Regions from separate parts of the Homo sapiens genome. Here regions 1, 2 and 3 are each linked to region 4. The links are contacts of gene promoters, found by promoter capture Hi-C in human tissues and cell types (Jung and others, 2019). All regions are on one chromosome and are shown on one strand. The core of a region is centred on a gene start or on the middle of the fragment in contact, and the rest is flanking DNA. Distances in the headings are between cores, read along the strand shown. Region 1 has its middle 11 kb from the start of MIR3685. Region 2 overlaps VEZT (vezatin, adherens junctions transmembrane protein). Region 3 holds the start of MIR7844 (microRNA 7844). Region 4 holds the start of NDUFA12 (NADH:ubiquinone oxidoreductase subunit A12).

Region 1 (2,956 bases), core at 451-2,950, 320 kb after region 4:
TTATATCAGAGACTTGAGCATCCTCAGATTTTAGTATTCTTGGGGGTTTCTGGAAGCCCAGACTACACCACTATGCAATATAGGTATGCAAGAAATATGCACTTGTGCACCCTAAATATACAAAAATTTTTAAAAATTAAAAATGGCTACTAAACTAGGTTAACTTTTAAAGCACAGAGCCATTACAGCTGTCACATAAAGGATAAGGAACAGCTGTGCACTGGGAATTCCTGATCTTAAAATAACTATCATGGCCACCCCCAGTGGCTCATGCCTGTAATCCCAGCACTTTGGGAGGCAGATGTGGGCAGATCGCCTGAGGTCAGGAGTTCAAGACCAACCTGGCCAACATGGTGAAACCCCGTCTGTACTAAAATATAAAAATTAGCTGGGCGTGGTGGTGCATGCCTGCAATCCCAGCTACTCGGGAGCCTGAAGCAGGAGAATCGCTTGAACCTGGGAGGCAGCAGTTGCAGTAACCCAAGATCATGCTGCTGCACTCCAGCCTGGGTGACAGAGCTAGACTCTGTCTCAAAAAAAAAAAAAAAACTATCACGACATCAATGTCAATCAGATTTTCATACTTCCTTGGTAGGTACTGGTTTTTCTCTCAGTCTACGAAAAGCTTTTTCTTAAGGCTCCAAGTAGAAGACATGTAAGCCTCTGTTCAAACATGCCTCTAAAAGCAGAAACTGGAAATGGGACTACAGGGTGACTGGCTGCTCACATACCATGTTTGGCTGGTGGGATTTGGTGAGGGAAGTTACTAAGTATATCCACATTAAGAGAGGACTTCCATTTCCCTTCTCTCTGTGACCATCCAGCCCCCCTTTAACACTGTGACCATTCCCCAAAGCTCAGCATGATGAAATCTCTGTTTCTTACCAATAACTGACCCCTAAGTTCTTAAACTTGTTTTGATAACCACATCCCTGTTGACTTGCCATACAGTCACAGAAAAACCTCTCAATGCAGCTTTATAAGATAGGCCTCCTTGCCAAGGAGAACCTGCATTCTAATTCCTCAGATTCAAACCAGACATGCCCAAACCACCTGCTTCTAGATATTTGTACTGGTCTCCATGGTACCAGACTCACATACTTAGAGTGAACTTTGAAGAGTTCAAAGCCACACTGAAGGAGGTACTAGACTTGGAAAGAAAACAGAATGAAAAATTCAATTATTTGTAATTGTCTAATTATTAGTTGGTTTTCTTCAGATTAATTCTTTTTGTTTTGTTTTGTTTTGTTTTGTTTTGTTTTGTTTACAAACTCTGTTTTTTGAGACAGAGTCTTGCTCTGTTGCCAGGCTGGAGTGCAGTGGCATGATCTTGGCTCACTGTAACCTCTGCTTCCCGGGTTCAAGAAATTCTCCTGCCTCAGCCTCCCGAGTAGCTGGGATTACAGGCATGCAACACCACGCCCAGCTAATTTTTGTATTTTTAGTGTAGATGGGGTTTCACCTTGTTGGCCAGGATGGTCTCCATCTCCTGACCTCATGATCCGCCCGCCTTGGCCTCCCAAAGTGCTGGGATTACAGGCGTGAGCCACCACGCCTGAACAGATTAATTCTTTTCTTAAACTCCATGCAGTATTTATTTTGTTTTTTAGAGGAGAACTAGGGGCCCATAAAAATAGCTATAAGTATTTATGTTTCTGTGGCCCATCTTGTACGGCTCTCACTGGGTAAGGTGTTAAAAGTGAAACTGCTGTTTAGCTTTCAAGCATATTCTGTTTGTGTGAATTCTCCCTGTCCTAAGCTTCAATTACTTGATTTTTCTTTGAGACAGAGTCTCTGTTGCCCAGGCTGGAGTGCAGTGGCACGATCTTGGTTCACTGCAACCTCCGCCCCCTGCATTCAAGCGATTCTCCTGCCTCAGCCTCCTGAGTAGCTGGGACTACAGGCGCATGCCACCATGCCCTGCTGATTTTTTAGTAGAGGCAGGGTTTCACCATGTTAGCCAGAATGGTCTTGATCTCCTGACTTCATGATCTGCCTGCCTCTGCCTCCCAAAGTGCTGGGATTACAGATGTGAGCCAACGCGCCTGGCCACATTTCCTTGATTTTTCTAGCCACTCTCTCTGTTATCATGCAGGAAAAAGTGGAGAAAAGGTAATTTACTTAGAAGAATAAAGAGCAATCAATTTCACTCTCAATACTTTCCCCTGTAAAAGCCCTAATGGAAGTGTCACCCAACCTTCCTAACTAGCAGTGTTATATTAGGTTGCCGCAAAAGTAATTGCAGTTTTTACCATTAAAAGTATGCAATTACTTTGCACCAACCTAATAGGAAGCAAACTTTCAAAGTCATTGATCTCTCAACAGCTATGCCTTTCTATTCATGTTACACTATGGAATTAGGATAGGCACCTATGAAGACTTTTCCAAACTAGAGCTCATGGCTAAACACGTGATTTTGCATGTGATTGCACAGGTGAGTCAAATCAGGCTCACATTATATCTCACTTTATCAGTGAGGCCAATCAGACTTTATCTCTTATGGGCTGCATCTGAAGCAGAAACTTTCCAAGATAGACAACATGAAAAGTTGATGCCATCTGGAAGCAGCGCCCTGGAAAGAAGGGTGCAGAGTGTCTGCTGCTGAGATTATTGAGGCTGCCCTGGCTCCCGCCTCTCCCAGGGTTTTACCAAGGAGCTGATGAAGGCTGTCTTTGACTCTGTAAATTGCCCTAAATCCTTTAAACCAACACCCCACTTAGGTTAATCAGAATTGGTTCCTGTTGCTTGCAACTAAAGATCTTTGGTTGATTAAGAAACAAAACACAGACCTGCATGCCTGTTAAGTGGAGTGGAGGATAACACTAGGAGGAAGAATGTCAATTTTTTTTGTCACTACCTCTTCCTTGTTGTTCAATGTATTTATAATTAGAAGGTACATTTAGAAATTCAAAAAGGAAGGAAACCTTTGAGCTTTGATACAGAATAATTTATTCGG
Region 2 (2,899 bases), core at 281-2,780, 290 kb after region 4:
GGAGTTCAAGACCAGCCTGGCCAACATGGCGAAACCCCATCTCTACTAAAAATACAAAAATTAACAAGGCATGGTGGCGCGTGCCTGTAGTCCCAGCTACTCGAGAGGCTGAGGCAGGAGAATCACTTGAACCCGGGAGGCGGAGGTTTCAGTGAGCCAAGATCACGCCACTGCACTCCAGCCTGGGCAACAGAGGGAGACTCCATCTCAAAAAGAAAAAAAGAAAGAAAAGAAAAGAAAAGAAAAAAAAGGAATTAAAACCTAGACCAGTGAGCCACATCATTAGCATTATTTAAGTGGTTTGAGCACTTTAGTAGATGGGAGGGGAGCAGGGTGCCTGTGGGCGTACTCCCCATACTCTGATTTCAGCAGAGTGGGGTAGCTGGTAATACAAAAGCCTTACATTCCTTTCTGTTTCTCACCCTTCTTTTCTTAAGTCAAACTTCATGGGAGACAGGGAAGGAATCAGGGGAAGCTTAATACTTGACAGTATCAACCTAGCTAATTCTTAGTTGAATTAATGCCTATGGATTTCTAAGTAGGTAGAGTGTGGATTCTCTTCCATTTTACAGTATCTGTGTGGACCCTCGAAATCAACTGCCCTGCTTTTCCCTCCTCACTAGAAGTACATAGATTACCTATACTTCTGGAAAGTTCCTCCAGTTCTCTTTTTTTTTTTCCCCTCAGGAGCCCTATGTTTTCTCCTGTCCAGATCTGCATTTCTTGGTTTTATCATTCCTCTTTCTTCCCATTGGCCCCCTTTATAGCCCAGGTCCTCAGTAGATTATCCTTGTACATTAAAATACCTTCTTAGCTGACTTCCATTTTCAGTACTTTTTTCTTCTAAGCTATCTTGCAAACTCTTTGCAGATTTTTCTCCAACACTGCATTGATGATGGCTCTCTATCTTAAAACCTATAGTGGTTTCTCCCTTTCTTATTGTGTTGAATCTAAACTCTTTTTCCTGTTTTCAAGTCTCTTCATCATAAGAATTCATCTATCCAATTATATTTTCTACTGTTTTTACTATAGATATCTTCTTATGTTTATCGAATTAAACTACAGTTCACAAATGTGTTATTTTTATTCATGAAAAAAATTCATGCTGGCCAAGCACAGTGGCTCACGCCTCTAATTCCAACACTTTGGGAGGCCAAGGCAGGTGGATCACTTGAGGTCAGGAGTTCAAGACCAGCCTGGCCAACATGGCGAAACCCCCTCTCTACTAAAAATACAAAAATTAGCCAGGTGTGATGGCGCACACCTATAATCCCAGCTGCTCTGGAGGCTGAGGCAGGAGAATCGCTTGAACCTGGGAGGTGGAGGTTGCAGTGAGCCGACATCGCACCACTGCACTCCAGCCTGGGTGACAGAGTGAGACTCTCTCTCAAAAAATAATAATAATAATAATAATAATAATAATTCATGCTTACCCCTTTACCAAGAATTCTGCCTTCTCCACCAAGCTGTCCTCTCTACTAGTCTCTCCTTCTCCATGAATCCTTCTCTGAGTGCTCCAGCTCTGCCGCCTCTCCTAACACTACAGACCCTCACACTAGAGGAACATTGTGATAAAATATAAAGGAAGTCTTGAACCCCAAAGCATATAGCAGAGAAGGGAAATGATTAACAGATTGATTTCCTGCAATCTGTTCATTCATATACTGGGCCTACATACATCAGAGATTAATTTTAGGCACTGTTGTTTTCTATATGTTCAGGGTTTTGTTTTGTTTTGTTTTGTTTGTCTCTGTAACAAAATTACAGTCTTCTTAAATAGGGGCCTTATTATCCCACAGCATTCATTCAGCAAATTACTCATTCAACAAGTAGTTATTAGGTACTTGTTATATGTCAGGCACTGTTTACTGCTGTATCCCTAGCGCAAAGATCAAGAGACAAAATGTAAAGCCTCCTACCTGCCTCAAGGCTTAAATTCTAACACACTCGTCAATTGATCCTCTCATTACTCAGATTATATCCACCCCATTTAATTAGTAATAATTGTGAACTATCAACCAACTTCTAATATATGTTGCTTCCTTTAAGAGCTAACAGATTTATAAACTAAGAATGTACATATATTGAAAATAGCATTGTATATAAACTTATATCCTTTTTTATTGTTTAGTGTTTCTTCATATAGCTTTAAAATTATGCTATTGACATTATGGGAAAGATTTATCAATGAGAGAAATGTGTCTCTTTTTCAGGTATGTGCTTTTGATATAGTTTACATTGGAAAGGGTCATAATGCTGTTTTAGTTTGTGAAAATAAGTAAAAAGCTGCTGATACCATAGAATGCTTTTCCCATGAAAAATTTCAGTACATCTTCCAGAGCTGTTTTCATCTCTGCCTACAGGGGTAAAGTCCGCATGGAATTAGAGGGGGAAAGTCTGCACTGGAACCTGCTGTGGCCATTTTTTTTCTGTTGTTGCTGCTTCTCTAGTGGAGTTACTGCAGCTTAGGGATGGTTCCTGGAAGTGGACACATTTTACAAAAACGTTTTTTAAATACACGCCAGCTCTTCGAGAAGCACTTTTTTCCTTCCGTCATGCTTCATACTATATTGTATTGTACTAACCCCTCATGCTGGGATGAGCGACTGCCTAGCAAGCAACCCACTGCCTACTAACATCAAGAGGGGCTAAATAAAACTGCATTTTCCTTGCAAGGACAACTTCTACCGTATGAATATATATTATATTTATGTATTATATTTTGTACAATAGTTGATCTTGAATGCAGACTTCATTTGTATTTTTCGTGGTACTACAAAATGTGTAGAAGTTATGGCTTTTCTTTCATTAGGGTCTTGTTAGGTGGTTGGCAAGTAAGTTAAATTGTATGTTGCATTTTTTTCCATGCTGTTTTAACTTGTAAATATATATGTATACA
Region 3 (2,700 bases), core at 194-2,693, 430 kb before region 4:
TTTGAATCCAGGGGGACCTGATGTCTCCTGGAAGAAAACGTACACTCACATGCCTTCCTGCCTGCAGCAGATGGCGGGAGTGGTGGGACAAGGGGCTCAACAGCAGTTTCCATGAACATTGTTTCCATCTTCCTCTTTGTTATACACACAGAGACACAGATTTAAAGGAAAGTATCATCTGGGCTGAAGGCGGTGAATGGTATCCCCCAAACAGGGATGTGAACTTTTGAATGTTTTCAGCTCAGAGGCAGTATGGTCGTCCTAATACCTCAGGACTTATGTTCAGTGAGATGTTAAGAGACAGGTGGCAACCTTGGCTCAAACACTGGACTTAATTTATTTTATTCTTGCTAGTCTTTCACTTCTCAAAGACGATGCTCTCAATCTTCATCCAGGTGAACTGCTCCCACTAATCTAGCCACCATTCAGTCACACCCTACGTCCTCGTTTCCTCATGCTTTCAGCGTTCCGACACCTCAGTGCACTTGAACTTTAGAGGCTATGGTTCGGTTGTCCTTCAAGGAAAAAACTGCAACATGACCATCATTTGTTTTCATTTCCTGAGTAAGCTTTGCAGTCCCTCACAGACCTGTGAATAAGATGAATCACATAAAGTGAATCATATCCTCCAGGGGGGCTTATCACAATCAAGATTTGCCAAAAAACAGCCAGGCATGGTGGCTTGTGCCTGCAGTCCCGGCTGCTTGGGAGGCTGAGGTGGGAGGATCCCTTGAAGCAAGGAGTTTGCAACCAGCCTGAGCAATATTTAGCAGAGCCCTGTCTCAAAAAAGAAAAAAGATTTGCCAAAACACAAACCTTCAGAGTAGTGCTCACAGGATTCCAAATTAATGTTAAAGTCACAGTCTGATGAGGGATTTGAAAACATTCCTGCACACTCTGAAGGCTGGGCATTTGCTAGCCAGTTGAGACAAAATCAGGTGTTGGTTGCCTGGGTATGAGAAGGTGAAAGCCCCATTCATAAATCCCTATGCCTTCCCATTTAAAGTGTAACAAAACCCCTCAGGTAGACTTGTTGGATAACAGGTGTGTGATAAGATTTCCACGTTACAGGGTCATACACGACTGACTGCTGTGGACACTGAGTACATGACGGGACCTATGGTCCCCTGGAGAGAAGCAGGGTGGATCACACGGGGACCATAGGCCACAGTGTTTAACACTGCCCAAGCCTGTGATTCTTCATTCCCTGAATCATGCATATCCTTGCTTTTTATAGGACTCACAGAAAACAACCATTAGCAATTGTGAAGCTCAATTCTGACAGAGACTTAGGAGAGAGACCTCTTTCTTCAGGATCACCAATTATGCCAAGGTCTCAATATACAGAGGTTTACCACGCTGGGCTGGTCAGGTGGGCAGGAAATCGGTCTGATTAAGGCAGTGAGCAAGGTAGGAGAGCTCTGAAACAGATTCGTGTTAACGAAGTACAAGGACTGAGTTGGCAACTGCTACGGAGTTAAGAGAATTGTAGTTATTTACACCACACAGTCCTAGTTTTTCTTACACACGAGTCCGCACAATCATTCACTGTAAAATTTGGTAGTATGCACAGAGTTTTCTTTAAAATAAAAACTTGAAAGAACTTGAAGGCAGGAACCAGTGGCTTCATCTTGGTATTATCATCCTTTCTATGGCACACAGGATATGGTCCCAGTTTTTACAAAATATAGCAAGAAGAGTCACGGCAAAGAAGGTGCCAAGAATGTGGCAGCGACTCTTCATCATGGGTGAGACGAACTTCGCGATGGTGGACACACACACTAAGATGACAGTCATGAAGGCCAGGATCACGTTGATGCACCTCCCCAGGAGAACTTTAGCATTCACGGTGTCTGTCTGCAGAGCTTGCTGCTCTTGCTGGTGGAGCTCCAGCTTAGAAATGCGAGTCTGGCAGGATTCCAAGGCTTCCTGTGAGCAAGAGGGAGAGCAAGGGTCAAACGGTGTTGGGATGGTGAGCAACACGTGAGTGCTCGCTCAGCTGTACACAAAAGCCCCAGCTCAGAAAGCCCAATGCCCAGGCGGCTGCAAATCCCCAAACCGATGATGATGGTGATAGACAAAGATGTGGAACAAGAATCCCAGGCTCATTTTCTCCTGTTGTTCACGAGTAGAAGAGCATGTGGATACAACCACAAAATACCATAAATGAGGAAGTATGGCTAAGTTTTTTGACTTTACCTGTTTTTTTTGAGATGTAGTCTTGCTCTGTCGCCAGGCTGGAGTGCAGTGGTGCGATCTCAGCTCACTGCAACCTCCGCCTCCTGGGTTCAAGCAACTCTCCTGCCTCAGCCCCCCAAGTAGCTGGGACTACAGGTGCGCACCACCATGTCTGGCTAATTTTTGTATTTTTAGTAGAGATGGGGTTTCGCCATATTGGCAAGGAAGGTCTCGATCTCCTGACCTCGTGATCGGCCCACCTCGGCCTCCCAGAATGCTGGGATTATAGGTGTGAGCCACCATGCCCAGCCGACTTCATCTTTTTTTTTTTTTTTTTTTTTTGAGACAGAGTTTCACTCTGTCACCCAGGCTGGAGTGCAGTGGCGTGATCTCGGCTCACTGCAACCTCTGCCTTCTGGGTTTAAGCAATTCTCCTGCCTCAGCCTCCTGAGTAGCTGGGATTACAGGTGCACGCCACCACGCTTGGCTAATTTTTGTATTTTTAGTAGAGACAGGGTTTTA
Region 4 (2,928 bases), core at 89-2,588:
TGGAACCCAGGAGGTGGAGGTTGCAGTGAGCCGAGATCGCGCTACTGCACTCCAGCCTGGCCGACAGAGACTCCATCTCAAAAAAAAAAAAAAAAAAAAAAAAAAAGAACAAAAACACTTCAAAATTTGATAGGTGAAAAATATATAACACTGTTTTTAAAGTTGCATTTCTGTTGTTACAAGTGAGAATGAGCATTTTTCCATACCTTCATTGGCTGTTTACTTTTCTTTTTTCTGTAAATTATCTTTTTTCATTTTCTATTGAGTTTTTCATCCTTTTCCAGGTGTTTTGTAAAAGCTCATTGCATAATATGGAAAATAGACTCAAATCAAATCCCAATCCCAATCCAATTATTCATACTAAAAAATACTGCACTCACCAAAAAATTGCTTGTTGTCTTCATAGTATTTGTTTCCATATTTGTCTTCCCCCACTAATGTACCAACCTTCGCATCATTTGTCCTGTGAATACCCAAAAGAAAACAGACATTTTAGAATGATTCTTAGTTCAAAACATAAACGGAAATAAAGTGAGAGTAACAACTTTCAGACACAAGGGCTGCTGCATCAACTAGCAAAATGAAGAAGTGCTGGGGATGGGAAAAGATGAATTGACAACTGATGTGCTCAAATTACACTAAAAATATAAATGTAGTCTCTTCAGATTACAGGACTACTTGTATCTACTATCCCTCAGCCAGGAGGCACTGGAATTAGCAAAACCTTTAGGAAATCAAAAAGCCAAAGTATTTCATCTTCTTACAATGATACGAAGGTCTCCAGGCTCTTTCATTCCACTCTGGGTCTCCATTTAGGTTTCTGCGAAACTATGCTGCTCGTGGGATCAGTGAATGTCAGGAAGAGAAGGGACCATCATTATTACCTTCAACGCCTTACAGACAAGGAACTGTACGGCAGTGCAGGGAAAAAAACTTTACCAGGGTCACTGAGTTAATGTCTTGTAATCCTCATTACTCTCCAGGGCGTGGGAAAAGAGGGGAGCCCAGATGCCCTTGCCTCCGAGTCACAGCTCTGACTCTACAGATAGCTTCGGTCTTGTATCGGGGATATATGGGACAGAGACCAGCCTGGGGGTGGCAAGGCAGAGATTGGGGCGGTTGTCCTTGACAAGAGCTGTGGATTCTCCAAGGTGACCCGAGCCTGGGACCCCTTCCAAGAAATCAGCCAGCGAAAGTCCAGCCCCAGAGGCCAAGAGCATGGCTCTGGCCGCCTACCTGAAAAAAACCCGTAGATAGCCTCGGAGACCGCCGTGGCCGGTGATCTGCTGCAGCCCGCGTTTCAGGACCTGCACTAACTCCATCTTGCCTCGCTGGCCCCGCCTCCCGGGTGCGCCGAGCAAAACCCACCGGATGGAAGCTGCCACTCAGCCGCAGGAAGCCCACGCCCAGAAGGTTCTCACGCGAACGCCAGACGTGGTGGCTCTGCGCGTGCGCAGAGCTAGGTCTTGCCTACGCGGTCATGTTCTGGCTTCCCAAGTAGGCAGAATTGGTTTCCCCTGGAAGCAAAGGTACCTTAAAATTTAGTTTTCAGAGGTTAAATCTAGAAGGCGGGCATATGCTGGAAAGCTCACCTACACGAGGCTTTCTCACACGGGGATTCCCCCTTTGGGAATTTCAGTTTCCTCATCTAAAAATAATTGGCTCTGGTGGGCGCGGTGGCTCACTGTTGTAATCCCAGCACTTTGGGAGGCCGGGTAGGGAGGATCGTTTGAGCCCAGGAGTTCGAGACCAGCCTCGCCAACACAGCGAGAATTCTGTCTCTACAAAAAAAAAAAAAAAATTAAAAATTAGCTGGATGTGGTGGCGCGTGCCCGTAGTCCCAGCTACTCGGTAGGCTGAGGCTTAGATGGGAGCATCGCTTGAGCCTAAAAAATTTCAATATTACTTCATTTGTTAACCACAATTCTTCTACAAAGAGAAACCTCCCTTCAACTATTTGGCTCCTGAGATACAATTAATGTAGGAAAGGCAGTATGGGTGCTTGATTCTCTTACTTTTTTTTTGTTTTTTAATTTTAGAGACAGGCTCTCTGTCACCCAGGCTGAAATACAGTGGTGTGATCATAGCTCACTGCAGCCTCAAACTCCTGTGCTCAAGCAGTCCTCCCATTTAAGTAAGTGCCACCACCCCTGGCTAATTTTTTTTTTTTTAGAGATGGGCATCTTGTTATGTTGCCCAGGTTGGTTTTGAACTCTGGCCTCAAGTGATCCTCCTGCCTCAGCCTCTCAAAATGCTGGGATTACAGGTGTAAGCCACCACACCCAGCCGATTCTTTCCCTTATGTGTGTTTTCAAAATAACAATTTAGTTCCCTAGCTTTTTTTTTTTTTTTTTGGTAGTGGTGGTTAAAAACACAAAATATAAAATTTACCATTTTAACCATTTTTAAGTGTACAGTAGTGTTAACCACATGCACATTGTTGCGCAACAGATCTCTAGAACTTATTCTTCTTGCAAAACAGAAACTTTATATCCATGGAACAACTTTTTCCTCTTTCTCCATCCCCTGCCAACCACCATTCTACTTCTGTTTCTAAGAGTTTAACTACTTTAGATACTTCATATAAGTAGAATCATGAGGTGTTTGTCTTTTAGGACCTGGCTTATTTCACTTAGCATGATATCCACAAGGCTCATCCATAGTGTAGTATATGACAGGATTTTCTTCTTTTTATAAATGTTGAATAATATTCCACTGTATGTATATGCCACCCAGTTACCTGTCCATAAACATTTCTGCTGATTCCGCCTCTTGGCTATTGTGAATAATGCTGCAGTGAACACGGGTGTGCAGATATCTCTAAGATCCTGTTTTCAGTTCTTTTGGATATATACCCAGAAGTGGATTGCTAGATCATATGGAAATTTTATTTTTTATTTTTATAGGAATCCCCATACTGTTTTCCAT

Evidence for each region. Contacts are between HindIII fragments. The study calls those that stand out against the background at their distance.
Region 1: a fragment that was not itself captured here is called in contact with the fragment with the promoter of NDUFA12 in region 4 in 1 of the 25 tissues and cell types used here (small bowel).
Region 2: a fragment that was not itself captured here is called in contact with the fragment with the promoter of NDUFA12 in region 4 in 1 of the 25 tissues and cell types used here (H1 embryonic stem cells).
Region 3: a fragment that was not itself captured here is called in contact with the fragment with the promoter of NDUFA12 in region 4 in 1 of the 25 tissues and cell types used here (lymphoblastoid cells).

Annotation. Positions count from the first base shown.
Region 1 is chr12:95,319,093-95,322,048 of GRCh38, forward strand. No RefSeq gene overlaps it. Among named protein-coding and RNA genes, the nearest start is that of MIR3685, 11 kb to the left of the region's middle. The HindIII fragment of the contact is 3,360 bases long and covers 21-2,956 here.
Region 2 is chr12:95,296,731-95,299,629 of GRCh38, forward strand. The region is part of intron 11 of VEZT (vezatin, adherens junctions transmembrane protein); the gene reads left to right. Among named protein-coding and RNA genes, the nearest start is that of MIR331, 10 kb to the right of the region's middle. The HindIII fragment of the contact is 4,254 bases long and covers 1-2,899 here.
Region 3 is chr12:94,569,809-94,572,508 of GRCh38, forward strand. It overlaps TMCC3 (transmembrane and coiled-coil domain family 3), which reads right to left. Exons shown (of 4, transcript NM_020698.4): 4 at 1-1,929. The coding sequence ends at 1,627. MIR7844 (microRNA 7844) reads right to left here and starts at 1,544; the gene lies at 1,423-1,544. The HindIII fragment of the contact is 6,963 bases long and covers 1-2,700 here.
Region 4 is chr12:95,002,359-95,005,286 of GRCh38, forward strand. It overlaps NDUFA12 (NADH:ubiquinone oxidoreductase subunit A12), which reads right to left and starts at 1,339. Exons shown (of 4, transcript NM_018838.5): 1 at 1,237-1,339; 2 at 381-463. The coding sequence starts at 1,322. RefSeq lists enhancers at 970-1,597, 1,062-1,461. The HindIII fragment of the contact is 12,199 bases long and covers 1-2,928 here.